3 separate regions of the Homo sapiens genome follow, and all the other regions are linked to region 2. The links are contacts of gene promoters, found by promoter capture Hi-C in human tissues and cell types (Jung and others, 2019). All regions are on one chromosome and are shown on one strand. Each heading gives the region's core, a stretch centred on a gene start or on the middle of the fragment in contact. The rest is flanking DNA. Distances are from core to core; before and after follow the strand shown.

Region 1 (2,822 bases), core at 1-2,500, 560 kb before region 2:
TCAACATATCTTCAATCCATAGTAATATGGTTTATGCCCTTTTTGTTCATCTAATGCATGCATAACCTCTTCTCAGAATGTTAAGGCATAGTACATAATAAGTGGCTACTTGCTCTCTCTCTTTCTATAAATAGTAAGAGAGAGAGAGAGAGAGAGAGTGTGTGTGTGTGTGTGTGTTTAACAAAAAGTTCAACATTTGAGAGAGGACTGTATGAGTTCCAATTGCTATGTTAATGCCCAGGGAGTTGGGATGAGAGAGGAATGGCTGGAAGGAATACAAAAACAAATCTATGGTAAATCCCTACTGTGAAGGAAAGTTAAGAGAGATAGATTGTATTTCTTACAACTAGAAGAGGTGGGCATGTGGAATAAACTTGGGTTTAACTTTAAACTGATATTGTAATCTGTTTGGTGAGATAAAGCTTCAAAAAGAGAAAGAGGCAGCAGCAATCTTGCCATTGTCTCAGGAGTAAGAATATGCATTCATGTTTTCTCTTTGTCTTTCCTCACCCTCTTCTATTTTTCCTTTTCCTTTTGTCTTTTTCCCAATTTCCCTAGAACCGTAACTAAAATAAAGTATTTTATCTACCTACCTGTCTCTTCTTTGCAGGAAAACATTTCCATCTGGCTTTCCTCTGTCTGACTTAAACAATGATTTTCCATCCTACCTGAACATTATAATCATCTGGAAGAGTTTTTTAAAATACAGATGCTATTGCTACACCCATGGAGCTTGTGTCTTACCATCTGATATGGTTTGGCTGTGTCCGCACTCAACTCTCATCATGAATTGTAGTTCCCGTAATCCCCATGTGTCATGGGAGAGGCCTAGTGGAAGGTAATTGAATTATGGGGAAGGTTACCTCCATGCTGCTGTTCTCATGATAGTGAGTGAGTTCTCAAGGGATCTGACGGTTTTATAAGGGGCTTTTCCCTCTTTGCTCTGCACTTCTGCCTGCTCCCACCACATAAAGAAAGATATCTTTGCTTCCCCTTCCGCCATGAGTGTAAGTTTCCTGAGGCCTCCCCCGCCATGCTGAACTGTGAGTCAGTTAAACTCTTTCCTTTATAAATTACCTAGTCTATGGTATGTCTTTATTAGCAGCATAAGAATGGACTAATACAGCATCTGTGATTCTATTCCAGTTTAGGATGAGATCCCCTGGTCTCTAAGATGCTTCAAGATAGCAGATCCAGCATTAACTCCTTCAAGTGTGAAATCCTGACAGCTAAATAGTTTCTTTCGTAAACATATCTTAAGCATTTAGTGGCCTCCTTGTCCTTCAAGACTGTGTTAAGTGTTTCTTTTCATACAATATGTTAGCCTTGTATTATATAACCTGGACAGTTTAATTCAACTCTAGTCGACTTTCTCCCTACCCCCACCTTTACTTTTATCTCTGTCTCACTTAGACTGACCCCATTGAGGATGGGGGCTGTTGCCTTTATCTCTGTGTCCCATTTATCTACTACAGGGCTCAGCACACAGTATGCCTTTAATGCATTTAGTAAAATAATGACTTACTTCTCTAGTTTGAGTTTTCAGAAAAAGGAAATTTCTCCTACTCTCAATATCTCATATTGGCCTGAGCCCTCAACCAATTGAAAGCAAACAACAGCTAAATTTCTCACTACATCTCCCATGCTAACTTAAAAAAAATTTCCTTTGATCTCAGCTGCTGATGGAGAGACTATGAAGTAACAGAAGTTTCTCTCTTCTTTAGCGAAAAATAATATGGTACTAATGCCCAGGAGGGATCTAAGGTTCTATTTTTATCCCTTCTCTGAATTATCAATTTACTGCTAGGCTTTGTTTTGAATCTCAGGGCTCTGACAGAGCAGGCTCTATCTTTCAGAGCTGACTGTTCTGCAAGATTATTTTAAAAGTAGCTTTATTAAAATAAACACATTTAAAATCAAAACAACTCTGGTGCTTCTAGAGATATTTCCTAGAAAGGAGTGTGAAAAACAAGTCAACTGCTGAAGGACCATTTTATTACTTCTAACTACAAGTAGTTTTTTCCATGCTATAGTGACTTTTTTGAGCAGAGAAGCAGGGCTTATTTAAATAATTATTCAGGCTTTCCAGGTACCATGGCGTCTTGCTCTTTTGCTTTCTGACCTGATGCCTTCGGTGTCCTTCTCAAAAGGCTCTCAGATCACCTTCAGTTGTTCTAGACCTTGTACTGCAGAGTTGCTTGACTTTGAATTTTCCATAAAATTGCATTTAAATATAAGAAACCTTCAAAATATTTTTATTGAATTTATAATTTGGAAATAAAAGCCTAAGATGAAGGGAGGCATTGTGATGCAAAAGGAAAAGGCATAGATTTGAGCATCAAAGGACCTAAGTCCCTGCACGACATTAATTGTATGACTTTTGGAAGGTCATTTTACCTCTTTGAATTTCATCTCTTTCATCTGCAAAATGAAAGTACTGAGCACATAGCTTATACATACGTTTGAGGGTTAAAGAGGACCAGCTATAAAGTACTAGACACATTGCAGTAAGTGTTCAGTGAAACAGGATTCACTCCACTGCCCGTGATTGTCCTTTTCTTCATATTTCAATTAAAATAACCACTGTAACAATCTTTTCTCTGTCAAATCATTAGCCTGATGAACTAATCCTCATCCTCCATTGCATCTATATTCTGGTTGTAATTGCTGTGAAAAACAACTCATGTAAATGACACAAAGACCCAGCTAATGAGGAAAGGCCAAATATTAATTCACAAATACATTCTGAAAAATGTCATTTTTACTTTAATATATTTTTGATGTATCTCCCATATGCCTGGGTTTATGCTTATTTCTATTAA
Region 2 (2,907 bases), core at 230-2,729:
GATTGTTAGTTTTTGTTTATCTAACTCCCTCCTCCACCCTACAAGTAGCAAATTGCCTTCCTTTTAATCATCTACTAGTTACTTCACTATCCCTGATCTAGAAAGAAAGGGAGAGAGAAAGAAAAGAAGAGAAAAGAAAAATCATTCCTCCCAGCAAATCAGACTGGTTTAAAATCTCTCTTCTTTCTCAAGGTACTCTTGTTAGGAGAATCTATTCAAGCCAATTCCCAGGAGCCTTTATGAGAGAGATCTTTGCAGAGGAATTTGTCTTCTTCTTTAACACCATTAAACTAATAGGATTTTGCAGACTACCTATTCCCCAATCCCGGCGCCCCCAAACAACAGCCAAGCATCCCGCCCCTCCTCCTCTCACCCCTCCAACAACAAGGCTGTTCGTCTCTCAGTGCTAATTCCTGCAACTGTGTCACTGTCAGGGTGGTACCTGAACCTTAGAGAGAGAGAGAGAGAGAAAGAGAGAGAAACTGAGAGAGGGAATCAGAAAAGCCACCACCGTGAGAAATATACACTTCAACGCACGCCATTTATGCAGCCCCTATGTATGTTGCTCAAATGCTCGGAAAATGCACGCAAATCCAAACGTTGGAAGAGGCAGCAATTCAGACCCGTTCACCGGCTGTTCCCAAAAGAAGGGAACCGGTGCGGCTGGGAGGAGGCGAAACGATGCTAAATCTTAACCCCCCTCTCGTTGGGAAACGACATCTTTAATCGCGCCCTCGCCTCCAGACCTCGGTTCCCGCTCCAGCACGTTAAGCAGGGCGCACTCACCGCATCCCCGGGTTTGGGAAAATAACAACTGTTGGCCCCCCGGAGCGCCGCGCAGCATCCGCACCTCCCTTCTCCCACCTCCTGGTTTATTTTTAACCGCCTTCCATTCATGCCCTTCTGTCACATTCCCGATATTATTTATCCCTCAAATGTCCACTGTTTCTTAACAGCCAAAATAAGAAGGTAGAGGAAAGATACAAAAAAAAAAAAAAAAAAAAAAAGGTATCATACTTACCGTTCCCCGGCGGGGCGAAAAATAAAAATAAAGAAAATCCACCGGCTGGCTTGTTTTTCCCCCTCAAGCTGCAACAGCTGGAGGAGGGGAAGAATGATCCTGGGTGGGGGGCGGGGGGTGGTAAAAGGAATCACTCGGGTTTGGCAGGTGGAGGCTCCAAATATCCACGGAACAAGTTCTGTTGCCTGGCCCGAGGGGTGCACAGAGTCCTCGCGGCTGGAGCCTGGGGGTGGGGGTTGGGGCTGCCCCAGAGAAGACCCCAAGACTCCTGGTTCCTCTGGAGTTCAGCACAGGAGGGATTGCCTGGGAAAGGAAGTCAAGGTTCCCCCGAAAAGAAACAAAATCCTAGACAGCAGCGATCACTTGTTAAGCCCGAATTCCTCCTCCAACATCCATCCCTCTCTCGCTCTCGCTGGCTGCGGGAGCAGCACACGCCTCCCCTGGCCGCGAACGCGCTCTGGGCGGGGGCGGGGCCAGGGCCGAACCGAGGGTGTGGCGTTCGCGACGGTCGCCAGGGGCGCCTCCCGGCGCGGCGGGGCGGGTGCAGTCACGACGCCGCGACTCCCCGCACCCCGGCTGGGCCCCCCGACTCCCAGGATCTGGGATCGATTCCAGGAGTCTTTGGCTGTGGTCCCCACAGGCGAGGAGCAAATCCTGGAGAAGTGTCCCCGTTGGGGCCGGAATAGGGGTTTCGACGGCAGCGCGGGAGTCCCCAGAGGGCTTGGGAGCGGGGAGCTCCAATGGGAGGTGCAGTCCCGAAAATGGGGTCCTCTGGGACATCTCCTCTACCTAACTTGCTTTCTCTATATCTCCCCTCGAGCCCCGAGCCCCGTCTTCTTTTCCCCACCCCATCCCCTCCCAAAGCGGGTTTGTTGGGTTGGGAGCCGGGTGCATCTCCGGCGAGGCCACGGGCGGGGAGCCCTCCTGTGCCTGCCAGAGCGCCCAGATCCCTCAGTCTCCGTCTCCTTTGCACACAGGAGTTGGGAGGCTTCAGCGCCGGGGTTGGGCCTCAGGGGCGCGGAGGAGACCGACTTTCAACCTGTATTCAATCCCGGGCAGGGGAATGTTACAGAAATTGGAATCAGGCCCAGGCTAGGGGCTGCGCACAGGAGGCAGCAGTTCTAGGGGAGGAGGGTTGGAGAGATGAGTAAGTTGCAGGGTGGGCCAGGGGCTGAGGGCTTTGGAAGGCGGGGGAAGAGCCCGCAGCCAACCTGTTGCTGCAAAAACAAATACGGCTCTGGTATCGACTCCCTGAGGGCTCTTTGGATCCTTCAGGACAGAAATCAAGGGATATCGCAGCAAAAAGCAAGTTTTTTTGGTTTTCTTTCTTTCTTTCTTTTAATTAAAGCTTGTGCGCACAAGGGAGCTAACACCAAGAAAAAAAAAAGTGGGCTGTTCCTCGAAGTCAGGGTGTGGGTTTCTTTTACGGGCCTCTCCCGTAAGGGGAAATAAGGAGAACTATAGACAGGGCATGTAGAGGTGGAGTTTTTCTGGTGCATGCATGGTGGTTTAACATGCTTCTTCATAGGACGTATGTATCATTAGCATCTTAAATCTCCACCTCTGGGAAAGATTTTTTGCATTAAATTAAGGAAAAGGTCACTATGAGTTGAAAGTTAAACCTAGCCGCCGCGCATGCCAGGGCCTCGGGCAAGTCCCTGGTCCCCTAAAGCCGAAACTTCTGGTTAATAGCTTCTTGAGCTTTTCATGCTAATTGGCTGGAGTTACAGTTTGAGGAAGGGTCTCTCCTTGTTTCTTGTTTATTTCTTCGGACCACATCAAAACAGGAAAGTAGACAGTTTGCCTGTCTCAGGCTTGCCAGAATCAACCGGGCGAGAGGTTTGGCTCCCGGGAGGACTCTATCTTAGTGATCTCTCCCACTGCCC
Region 3 (2,958 bases), core at 14-2,513, 530 kb before region 2:
CCATGGAAAACAATGTTAATTATATTTATAACGATCTCTTCTTGACTCTATACTAATCAGTTCTTACTCTCTGAGTCAGTGAGTTGTACTTGCCAATGTTATTCTTGTCCTTGCCTACGTCAGTGTGCCAGGTATTGACATTCAAAGTGAGTTTTTCTAATGTATGTATAATTGCTAAATAATTATTTAATTCTCTCATCTATCTTCTGTCTCTGTCTGTCTCTCTCTCTCTCACTTTTTACACTAAAAGCAAAATAAAACCTATTTAGTAGGTAAATCTGTGTGTGAATATATAGATAATAAATGTCCTAGATGAAATTGCCAACAGATTTGGAAGGCATGTTAATGTAAATATTTTTTAAATGTACCTATAAGCCTGTCAAAATCTAAAAACAGGTCTGTATAGGACTGTACATGTTGAATAAATATTTTTATCTGTTGATTTTTAAAAGAAAAGTACAATGATCAACTTAATCATCATCCTAATCACCCTATATATGATTTGTTAAATGCTTACCAAGCATCAGATAATGTGTGGGGGACTTTTCTAGCAGTATTAGTTTCCTAGGGCTGCTGTAACAAATAACCAAAAAACTTCGTTGCATAAAACAACAGAAATGTATTCACTCATAGTTCTGGTGGCCAAAAGTTCAAAATCAAGGTATCAGCAGGGTTACACTTCCTCCTGAGGATATACGGAAGATTCTGTTCCTTTCTTTGTCCAGCTTCTGGTGGTTGCAAATTTCCTTAGGATTGTGGCCACATGTTTTCAATCTCTGCTTCCATGGTCACTTACCCTGTTTGTTTGGACAGTCTCACTCTGTCGCCCAGGGCTTGAGTGCAGTGGCATGATCTCAGCTCACTGCAATCTCCACCTTCTGGGTTCAAGCAATTCTCCTGCTCAGCCTTCTGAGTATCTGGGATCGCAGTTGTGCACCACCACGCCCAGGTAATTTCTTGCATTTTTAGTACAGACAAGGTTTCCTTATGTTGGCCAGGCTGGTCTCGAACTCCTGACCTCAAGTGATCCGCCCGTCTCGGCCTCCCAAAGTGCTGGGATTACAGGTGTGAGCCACTGCACCTGGCCTATTTATCCTCATCTGCCACTGTGCCGTGTTTCTTGTAAGAGCAATTGTCACCAGATTTAGAACCCGCTGCAATAATCCAGATGATCTCAATTTCCTTACTTAATTAAATCTGTAAAGATCCTTTTTCTAAGTAAGGTAACATTCACAGGTACTGGAGGTTAAAATGTGGACATATCTTTTTGGGAGTCACTATTCAACCCGTTCCTCTAACTGTCTCTAATTGTCATAAACATAGAGATAAATTGAGAGTGAGAGAGGTTAGCAATTTTCCTAAAGTTGCACAGATTAGGAGTGGTAGGACTAGGATCTTAAATAGAAGCAGAACTCATCCCGTTGAATTTTAATTGTTCATTCTTCCATTTATATCCCTGCCTAGGTCCAGGTATCTTGGTGGTTGAGACTTATGACGTATCCCTAATGTCATGCTTTGGCCTTTGATACAGGCTAGGCACTAAATAACCAATTGTTGAATAAATTGAATACATGATTTCTCACCAGCAAGTCCGTTACTGATAAACAGCCAAGGCCAATATCCATTGAAAATGAAAATGTATCTGTTATTTTGCAGCAATTTTATCTAAATGTTATCAAAATTCAGTAGCGAATGTTTATCTCTTTCCAGAGTTTAGTATGAAAATTCTTTAGACTTATTTACTCAGAAACTAAGCTCTGTGATGTAAATATAGAAGTAGCAATTGGCCACATACTATCTCCTTCTTCCCTTTTGTTATTATGTATATTTATTTACATAATAAAGAAATATATGTATATATACATACATATGTATATATACACATATGTGTGTGTGTATGTGTGTGTGTGTGTGTATGTCAGGAGTAACTAAAAGAGGAAAAATACCTAGATAAATCACCAGTTTATTTGGTTTTTAAGCACAACCACTGCCACATATTGGCTGGTGTGTGAGTTTTATTGAGCAATGAGATCCAATTTGTTGCCTAGTTATTGCTGGTGACTGAATATAGGTCTTCTTTTTCTAGAAAAATTGAGTGGTAACTGAAGATGGCAAAACACCGCATCAGAACGACTCAGTCACAGTGGCAATTGTTTTGTGAGTGAATCATTCAGCCTTTCTTTCTCTCCTTAAGGAAATTTTAGTAGCTAATTTCAATAAGCAACTAAAATTTTGGTAACATACAGGCCCAGGATTGAGAATTATAAAACAGGATGTATATGAAAAATAATGTTTTTAAAGTTACTCTTTCTCTCTCTCTACACACACACACACACTCTCTCACACTCATATTTTCTGAGCTATTTCCTCTTTTTGGTCACTCATTCATTAACCATTCTTATGCCAGAAGTATCTACCTTCCAGATGAATCTTCAAGTTTTATGATAGACCTCTTATTCAATTTAGATGTCCTTTCCTCTCCAAGTGCCCCAAGATTAGGATTTCTTATCTACTCTCTAAACATTCCTGAGTCTGGCAAGGAAGCTTCAGGCATGGTAAGGAGAATGACAACCAAATTTCTGTTGTAGGTCACTAAAAAAAGTTGATGCCAGACTTGTGGATGTGAGGATGCATGCAGTGGTTTGAAAGAGCAGAATTCAAGGACACTAAAGAGTTATGATTGAAATATAATTGATTTGAGGTATGCCACTGAGGCACCCAGTCCGATATACATTCAACCACAAGAAATTAAACCTTCTCTGTATATCTGATGTTCAATTTCCTTATTTCTAAAATGTACAATGTAACATATTTCAACTAGCATTCATATAAATCTTAGATGAATCTGGCACAATGCCAGAAATATATTAGTTGCTCACATATCATTATTTACAAGAGGCTAAGAAAAGGCACATGATTTTAGGAAGTTTTCTCCTTGTTTGTGGAAATTTTATTATG

The links. The method cuts DNA at HindIII sites, captures the fragments that hold promoters and counts their contacts. A contact is called where the count stands out against the background at its distance.
Region 1: a fragment that was not itself captured here is called in contact with the fragment with the promoter of KCNA4 in region 2 in 2 of the 25 tissues and cell types used here (H1 embryonic stem cells and dorsolateral prefrontal cortex).
Region 3: a contact is called between a fragment that was not itself captured here and the fragment with the promoter of KCNA4 in region 2, in 4 of the 25 tissues and cell types used here (bladder, dorsolateral prefrontal cortex, heart right ventricle and 1 more).

What each region holds. Positions count from the first base shown.
Region 1 is chr11:29,456,701-29,459,522 of GRCh38, forward strand. The region is part of intron 2 of LINC02755 (long intergenic non-protein coding RNA 2755); the gene reads right to left. Among named protein-coding and RNA genes, the nearest start is that of LINC02755, 140 kb to the right of the region's middle. The HindIII fragment of the contact is 4,337 bases long and covers 1-2,822 here.
Region 2 is chr11:30,015,551-30,018,457 of GRCh38, forward strand. KCNA4 (potassium voltage-gated channel subfamily A member 4) reads right to left here and starts at 1,480. Exons shown (of 2, transcript NM_002233.4): 1 at 1,022-1,480. The HindIII fragment of the contact is 10,149 bases long and covers 1-2,907 here.
Region 3 is chr11:29,481,906-29,484,863 of GRCh38, forward strand. All of the region lies in intron 2 of LINC02755 (long intergenic non-protein coding RNA 2755), which reads right to left. Among named protein-coding and RNA genes, the nearest start is that of LINC02755, 110 kb to the right of the region's middle. The HindIII fragment of the contact is 5,756 bases long and covers 1-2,958 here.